Regions from separate parts of the Homo sapiens genome. Here all the other regions are linked to region 2. The links are contacts of gene promoters, found by promoter capture Hi-C in human tissues and cell types (Jung and others, 2019). All regions are on one chromosome and are shown on one strand. The core of a region is centred on a gene start or on the middle of the fragment in contact, and the rest is flanking DNA. Distances in the headings are between cores, read along the strand shown. Region 1 overlaps KY (kyphoscoliosis peptidase). Region 2 holds the start of KY (kyphoscoliosis peptidase). Region 3 has its middle 62 kb from the start of KY.

Region 1 (2,946 bases), core at 435-2,934, 33 kb after region 2:
CCGCCAAGCCTTCAAACCCACTGACATCCTGCGGACCCAGAAGACCAACTGTGATGGCTATGCTGGCCTCTTCGAGAGAATGTGCAGGTACGAGAGACAGGAGTCCCCATGCTGACCACCGGACCCATCCCTCTCCCTCTTCCACAGTGCCATGTGCCTTTGCCCACATGCCAGGCCTGAAACCTGAGTTTACAAACTCTGCTCTGGAACCCAAGTGAGTCCTGAAAAGGTCAATTTCTCCCTTTTTAACACCAGCATAATTGACTTTGTACCATCTGCCGGGCTTCGCGATGCATTAACATAATGGTAGATGAATGCACAGAGATAATTTGGTTATAAAAAGCCCTTTTTCCGCCTTCTCCCATCTCTATGCAGCTGAAGGTTAAAAGAATGGCAGGCCTGGGAGCGGGAGGACAGTGACTGCAGATGCCAAGGGGACTGTGAAAGGCTGTCCTCAGGGCTGACACAGGGAGCCTCTTTTGGGGGAAACAAAAGATCTCCCACCTGAAAAGATTTGTCAGTTGGACAGCTGAATCACTACGAAGCGGCTACTCTTGGAGTCGCTGGGCTCCATTTTCAGCACTCTGGGAGTGGGCATATGGCCAGGTTGCTGGGGTGGGTGACAGCTCTGGCCTGAGCAGGAGAACAGGCCATTGCCAGTTCCCAGTGACTCAAAACAGGCTCAAGATGTGGGGTGGGGGGAGGGGATGGCCACTGACCCCCACAGCTTCCTGAGCCTACCCTCTGAGGTCTGCTGGGTTCCTCCAGAAAACAGTCAGCTAGCCCTGGGGCCATCAAAGAACCCCTCCCCAGGGGGTGGATGAACAGCGGCCCACTGTCTTTCTAGGCTTCTGGGAGTGAGTCTTCTTAGGCACCCAGATGTCAGCCCACCAGAACTGCAGGTGGCAATTCATCAAACCAAGTGTAACACTTAGTCCACAGGCAGGCAGTTGTGATGGCCTCAGTGTTGCAGAGGCGGCAGCTGCCGAGCACTGGGTGCATGCAACCTATTCCTGGCCCAAACCCCCTGTTGTGCTGCCTCCTGCCCCCATCACCACTGCCAAGCACAGGCACCTACCCGGCTGCTGAGTTACTCTAAGCCTCCTGCTCTGCTTCCTGTACTTCCCTTTTCTCACTTTCAAGGCCAATCCCTGAGACCACAGCCCCAGACGCAGCCACGGTGGGTCAGGGTACAGAATATGCCACCCAGGCTGCTTCCCACCCCCTACCCCAGACCCAAGCATACCTCCTGCTGCCTGCAGGCCTCTCCAGGAACCTGGATCCTCACTGGCCTCTCTGTCCAGGCTTCCCTGGTCCTGGGTTCCTAACATCACTAAAGGATCACACTATCTAGCAAAGTCCTCCAAAATCTGACCTCAGCCAAGTTTCCAGCCCTGCACTGTGTGACACCACCTTCCTGACCACCTCTGCATGCACACCTGCTCCCTCTCCCCAGAGCTCCTTCCAGGCCCCGCTCCAGGACAGCCCACAACCTTCCCCTTCCTTTGTACCCCCAGCCCAGTTGCACACCAAACTCATGTGTTGCCTTATGCTTTCAATTAATAACATTTTTAAATTTAAAAAATACCATTCATTGTAGATGGTTTATAAAATGCACTAAAGCAAAAAAGAAATTATTACTCTGAATCTCACCACTTACAGCTAACACTGGTAACATTTGGTCATATTACTTTCCAGACTGTGTTCTGTGCATACAGGAATTACCTGTGCTCGGTTGTTGTCATACATCCTATCGATTGTATACGTCTATATTTGCCTTTATCTCCTCTCTCCTTCTACCTCCCCTGCGAATACCCATCTCAGAATCCTACACCCAGTAGGCCCTCAATAGACATATATAGAAATGACAGGATATTCCTAGCAGACTTATGTGGAATGGAATGTGGAATTCTCTTTTAACTGATGAAATAGCCACAAGTCTCTTAGCTCCATTTGTGCCTAGCATCTTTCAGAACATGATTATTTTCCTCTGATTTTACAAATTTGAAAAATGCTTAGCATTTTTTCCAAGTTCCAGGATATATTCCTCTTTATCCAGTATAAGCTTTCTAGCATACTGTAGAAGGAATGCCAGATTTGAAGCTAGAAAGACCTGGGTCTACCACTTAGAGTGGTATCGCCTCCTTGATCCAGTATAAGCATCCTAGCATCCTTTAGAAGGAGTGCCAAAGTTAAAGCCAGAAAGACCTGGCTCCCAGTTTTTAATTTACCACCTATTAGTTTTGTTCTTTGTGGTAAGGCCCTTAACCTCTTGCAGCCTCAGTGCTCTCATCTATATATTGGAGACTAGATTGCCTACCTGGCAGGGCTATAGGACTCAATGAGACTGCAGTTTGGGGGTTACCAACCCGATTTTGGGGTGGGTGTTTTTTGACCTATCTTGTCTTTCTTGAGTATTGATTGGAGTCCTTTTGCTCTGTGGAGTTTTCCTACAGACTCTGCCAGCCTACATAGATTCAGAAAATTGACACTTGCCTTGAGTGAAACTGTCAGCTTTTTGCCCTGGTCCAGATACTTAACAATGGCCCTATTCTGGCCTGCAGCTTATCATTAAAACTCTCCCTAACATTTTGCATCATTTAAAATTAGTTCCAACATGGTGATTACCATGTGCAAAATTCCTCACACTGCCTGAGATGTGTAGCAATAGCTCACGGTCCCCTGAATTCCTTTAACTGTTTCTTTAAAGATCAGTAACCTATCTATGCATCCCTCTACTAACTCTCTTTACCTTTAAAATAACTGCCAAAAGTTTGGTAAATTAATTAGCTAATTCCTTAATAACTGAGGACATATAATCCGCACTTGCTGATTTATCCCTTCTTGGTTGTCAGGGTGGACATCATTACTTTTTGCCAGTCCATTCCACCTCCCTGAAATTGTCTCATTAAAGACTGATTTAATAAAGTAATTTGGGGAGGAATT
Region 2 (2,700 bases), core at 77-2,576:
ACATCTCTCCTGCTTCTCTGCTCCATCAGTCACTTGTCACTCCATCTTTCCCTTTCCTCACCCTTAAAATGAAGTAAGAATGACAGCTACCATATGAAGACCACTTTCTATACACCAGGCGCCTTACATTCATGCCATTCTCACAACAGCCATGTGAGAAATTTTTATCAACCCAGTGATAAGGGTGAGAAGGTGGAGGGAAAATGGCTGGTCCAAGGTCACACAGCCAGGAAGTGATGGAGCTGGTACTGGAATGCAGTCTGTGTGACACAGGCTGCTCCAAGGAGGATCTGGGAACTCTCAGGACCATGCTACAAGGTGGGGTCCATACACTCCAATGCGGGGAGGGCTCCCAGAGCAAAGGCCTCCATGTGGGGGTGCATTTATTAACAGTAGAAACTCGAATTAGGGGAACGCCCCCAGCAGGGTGGGCCCGTAGTGCCCAGGGGTACCAGGCAGAAGCCTATGTAAACACTCCTGAGACCTACAGCCAAACCCCTGCTGCTGTTGGCTGGGCAGGCCAGGCCGGGCTAAAAATAGAAGGCTTCTCAGGTCCAGCTCCCTGTGCCCCAGCCTCCTCCTCTCCCCCTCCCTCCTTCCCCACAGGGCAGGAGCCAGGCTTCTAGAACGAACCGAGACTTTAAGACTTTCGTTTCAGATCAAAGAGGATCGTTAGCTTGATACTCAATGGGCATGTTCCAAGTTCTACAGGGGCCGTAACTGGGGGGAGCTCCTGACTCCAACACCCCACCCAACTCCCTCCTAGGGAGAGAGAGCTGTCAACCTCCAAAACCAACCCAGGGAAGGAGTGAGGTCGAGGCCAAAACTTGGACAATCTCTGCACATCTTGCAATTCAATCTGGAGCCCCTTTGCTGTCTTTCCTTTTCCTGAATCTACTCTCAATGTTGACAGCACTGTGCGATTTCTGTATTTGCCAGGGGCTTCTCGTGGGAGGTCGGCTCCAGCCCTCTCGAGAACCCTCCGGAGACCGTGGGGATGAGGCAGCGCTCAGCCAGAGAAGCCCTGGAGCCCAGGACCAGCGCTTCAAGTGCACCGGGCGGGAGGCAGGGGCGCAGGGAGGGAGGCTCTGGACCGGCCGCCCCTGCTGACTATGGCCCCGGTGCAGGTCAAGGCTTGGGCCCGGGGATTTCCTTTCAAAGGTGACTTAGAGCCGCTTCATTAGGGTAGCGCCCTCCCAGGCGGGCCCTAATGGCGTGTTTGGCAGAGTCAGCGAAAAGCAGCGCCCTGCGGCTCCAGCGGCGGGGGAGCGCCCTCTTCCGCGCCCTCGCCCTCTCCCGTGTGGGGCAGCTGCGCGCACGGGGCCATTTGCAGCGCAAGCAGCCTAGCGTGCGGCCGCGGCGCCCAGGTCGGAAAGGAGGCGGCATCATGGAGCTGAAGAAGGACATCAACGCTGTATCTATCGACATGCTGCTGATCGTGCACTCGGAGAAGCGGCGCGCCGCACAGGGTACGCTCTCAGACCAGCAGGCGAACCCGAGCTCGCTGCTGCAGCGCGGAGGAGGTAACGCGCGCCCGACCCGGGTCCCCGGGTCCCCCGGCACCTTGGCCTCCTTGCCACAAGGGCCTGCCCGCCGGGGGGCGCCCATTGCTCCCCCGAACGAGGTCAGCGAACCCGACCCTCTCCCCCATGGCTGCCGTCGCTTCCCCGCAGTGGCACCGGCGTCCCGTGGCAACGCGCAGTCCCGTGGCAACGCGCAGCCCCGTGATTGCCCCAGTTTCACTCCCTGTGCAGGCCTGTGGGTGCTTCCGTCACCCCTGGGAGTCTTTTTCCTCCCAGCCACTCCCTAACGGGTGTAGAGCAAGATTGGAAGATACCCTGGAGGAAGGCGGCCAGAGCCTCAGGGCTGACTCATGGGTAGCAGAGGCCTGCTCCCCCCCACAGCACACTGCAGGGCACAGGGGACGCTGGGAAACCTTTGGGCTGAGTCAGACTTTTAGATGGGGAGCTCCCTGTGTGGCCTTGCACAATTTACAGCCTCAGTTTCTCCTTTCTTGAGACTTTCTCCCAGCCTCCTATAGATGGAAGGCATGAAAGGCGTAAAAGGAACGCAGGTTTGGATAGGGTAAGATTTGAAACCTGCTGTCTCCACTTGAACTTATCCATCAATTTTACTTGTCCTACACACTTTCTGGGTAAATTTGTAAGTTGTAGATTGGTAAAATAAAGTGACTGTTTATAGAGTGATTGTGGAAAGCAGGATCCGGGCCTCTCTGTTCTCCAGACGACAGAACACAATGTGAATGGAGTACAGAGGGATGATAATGGAGGTTAAATAAGCCCCTGAAAAGCCAGAGAACCTCAGGGTCCTGGATGGCAAGCTGTCTCCGAGGCTGGTGTGAGGATGCACTAGGCGGACTGCGGGCCAGTTCTTTAGGAGTTAGGCCTGACAGCCCATGCAGGAGAATGACTTCTGCCTCTCTCCTCCCCTCCAGCTCTGGAGCTCCTTGGAATTCCTGCTGCTGCTCTGCCCTTGGTTCTTCTGTCCCCAGAGCCTCTGTGCTCATTGAACATCCACCTTCCACCTGCCTTGCTTAAGTAATGCTGCTGTGGATGGCCTTGCCACTACCAGCCACATAGGCTGGAGCTGCCTCCAGAGCCCTGGGAACCTCTTGGGAAGGCAGGCAGGGGAAAGAAACAGAATCTAGAGGGCTGAGTATGTTGACAGGCGCTCTAGTCT
Region 3 (2,804 bases), core at 305-2,804, 62 kb after region 2:
TGCTTATTTCTAATGAGTAGAAATAGAACTATTGTCATGCATTGACCTAGTATCCAATTATCTTACTAAATTTACTAATTAATTCTAATCATTTATAGGGAGGTCCTTTTGGATTTTCTACACACACAATCATGTTGCCTGTGAATAATTATTTTTTTCAACTTCTGTTTTAGGTTAAGGGGTATATGTACAGGTTTTTTATGTAGGTAAATTGAGTGTCATGGTGGTTTGGCAATGTACAGATTATTTTGTCGCCCAGGTGATAAGCATAGTACCCAATAGGTGTTTCGATCCTCACCCTCCTCCCACCCTCCATCCTCAAGTAGGCCCCAGTGTCTGTTGTTCCCTTCTTTGTGCTCAATCTTTAGCTCCCACATATAAGTGATAACATGTGATATTTGGTTTTCTGTTCCTATGTTAGTTCACTTAGGATAATAGCCTCCAGCTCCATCCATGTTTCTGAAAAGACATGATTTGATGCTTTTTTATGGCTTCATAGTATTCCATGGTGTATATGTACCACATTTTCTTTATTCAGTCTACCATTGATGAGTATTTAGGTTGATTCCATGCCTTTGCTATTGTGAATAGTGCTATAATGAACATACGCATGCATGTGTCTTTATGGTAGAAAAGTTAATATCCCTTTGGGGATATACCCAACAATGAGATTGCTGGGTCGAATGGTATTTCTGTTTTAAGTTCTTTGAGAAATCACCAAATTGCTTTCCATAATGGCTGAAATAATTTATATTCCCACCAGCAGTGTATAAGCATTCCCTTTCCTCCACACCCTTGCCAATATGTTTTTTTTTTGACATTTTAATAATAGCCATTCTGACTGGTATGAAGTGATGAATAAGTAATTTTTCTTCTCTGTCATTCTACCTTTTATTTCTTTTCCTGATCTGATTGTGCTGGGTAGAAGTTATGATGGTAGTAGGTATTATTTTCTTGTTCCCAATCTCAGGGAGAAAGTGCTCAATATTTCACTATTCCAGATGATGTTAAACAAAACTTGCATGCTTGGAATAAACTCAGCTTGGTCATAATAGATTATTCTTTTTATATATCACTTCTTATATATCATTTGATATGGTCATAATTTGTTTAGGGCTTTAACATCTATATTCATAAGAGAGTCTGTACTTGTCTTTTTTTGAAATGTCCTTGTCAGATTTGGTTTCAAGGTTATGCTGGTCTTATAAAATGAGAAGAGAATTATTTCCCCTTTTGTCATTCTCTGAAAGAGTTTGTTGTATAGGCTTACTTCTTCCTTAAATATTTGGAAACATTCACTGATGAAGCCATCTGAGCCTGATACTTTTGTTGTAGGAAGTTTTTCAATTAAGGATCAGTTTTAAAATTATTTATGACTCTTCAGATTTTCTAATTCTTCTTGTGTCCATTTTGTATGATGAGTTTTTAAAAGAATGTATCCATTGTGTTTAAATGTTTACAGCTGTTGGCAAGGAGTTATTGATGCCTTTTTGTTACTGTCTGTAAGATCTGCACTTGTTTGCTTTTTATTATTTTTATTCCTGATATTTGTAATTTGTATCTTTACATTTTTTTCTTGATAAGTCTAGTCAGAGGTTCAATCAATCTTATTAGCCTTTTTAAAGAACTAACTTTTGATTTTGTTGTTTTCTCTATTGAACATTCATTTTCTAATTCATTAATTGCTACTCCTTATGTCTTCCTTCCATTTTCTTGACGTTTAGTTTGCTCTTTCTTACCTTTTTAAAATAAGTATTTAGATCATTTACTTTCTCAATGCTTTTCTTTTTTAAAATATAAATTTAAAGCTACCAGTTTCCCAGCGAGCACAACTTCAATTGCACACCAAGAGTGTAGTCATTTCATGATCATTCAGTTCAAAATATTCTCTACTTTCAATTGTGATTTATTTCTTTCACCCAAGTGTATTTACAAGTGTATTGCCTAATTTCCGAACACTTAGATATTTTTTTTAAATACCATCTAAAATGTATTTCTAGTTTAATTCTACTCAGTCAAGGATTATATTATTTTATTCATTTGAATTTGTTGAGCATTTGTGTCTCAACATATGTTTAATATTAGTTTTATTTTCATTTATTTATTTATTTATTTTTGAGATAGAGTCTTGTTCTGTCACCCAGCCTGGAGTGCAGCCGCACTGTCTCAGCTCACTGCAACCTCTATCCCCCTCAAGTGATTCTCCTGCCTCAGCCTCCTGAGTAGCTGAGATTACAGGTACGTGCCACCACACCCAGCTGATTTCTGTATTTTTAGTAGAGACGGGGTTTTGCCATGTTGGTCAGGCTGGTCTCGAACTCCTGGCCTCAAATGATCGCCCACATTGGCCTCCCAAAGTGCTGGAATTACAGACGTCATCACCATGCTCAGCCAATATTAGTTTTACTTGTATTTGAAGAGGGACATATTCTGACATTTTGGGGTGGAATCTTCTTCATATGTCCATTAATTCAAGTTTGTTAGTCTTGTTTCTCAAATCTCTTACATCTTTACTTAGGTTTACTGAGAGAGATGTATTAAAAACATCCATTTCCTTTTTTTTTTTTTTATAGGGGGGTCCATTCCAAGATGGCCAAATAGGAACAGCTCCAGTCTGTAGCTCCCAGCGTGATCGATGGAGAAGACAGGTGATTTCTGCATTTCCAGGTGAGCTCCAAAGAGAGCAGTGGTTCTCCCAGCATGGTGTTTGAGCTCTGAGAACAGACAGACTGCCTCCTCAAGTGGGTTCCTGACCCCTGTGTAGCCTAACAGAGAGACACCTCCCAGTAGGGGCCGACAGACAC

Evidence for each region. The method cuts DNA at HindIII sites, captures the fragments that hold promoters and counts their contacts. A contact is called where the count stands out against the background at its distance.
Region 1: a fragment that was not itself captured here is called in contact with the fragment with the promoter of KY in region 2 in 1 of the 25 tissues and cell types used here (pancreas).
Region 3: a fragment that was not itself captured here is called in contact with the fragment with the promoter of KY in region 2 in 1 of the 25 tissues and cell types used here (stomach).

Annotation. Positions count from the first base shown.
Region 1 is chr3:134,616,289-134,619,234 of GRCh38, reverse strand. It overlaps KY (kyphoscoliosis peptidase), which reads left to right. Exons shown (of 11, transcript NM_178554.6): 8 at 1-87. It also overlaps a transcript of CEP63 not described here. Among named protein-coding and RNA genes, the nearest start is that of KY, 33 kb to the left of the region's middle. The HindIII fragment of the contact is 6,070 bases long and covers 1-2,946 here.
Region 2 is chr3:134,649,648-134,652,347 of GRCh38, reverse strand. It overlaps KY (kyphoscoliosis peptidase), which reads left to right and starts at 1,326. Exons shown (of 11, transcript NM_178554.6): 1 at 1,326-1,523. The coding sequence starts at 1,388. It also overlaps a transcript of CEP63 not described here. The HindIII fragment of the contact is 13,352 bases long and covers 1-2,700 here.
Region 3 is chr3:134,587,602-134,590,405 of GRCh38, reverse strand. It overlaps a transcript of CEP63 not described here. Among named protein-coding and RNA genes, the nearest start is that of KY, 62 kb to the left of the region's middle. The HindIII fragment of the contact is 3,681 bases long and covers 1-2,804 here.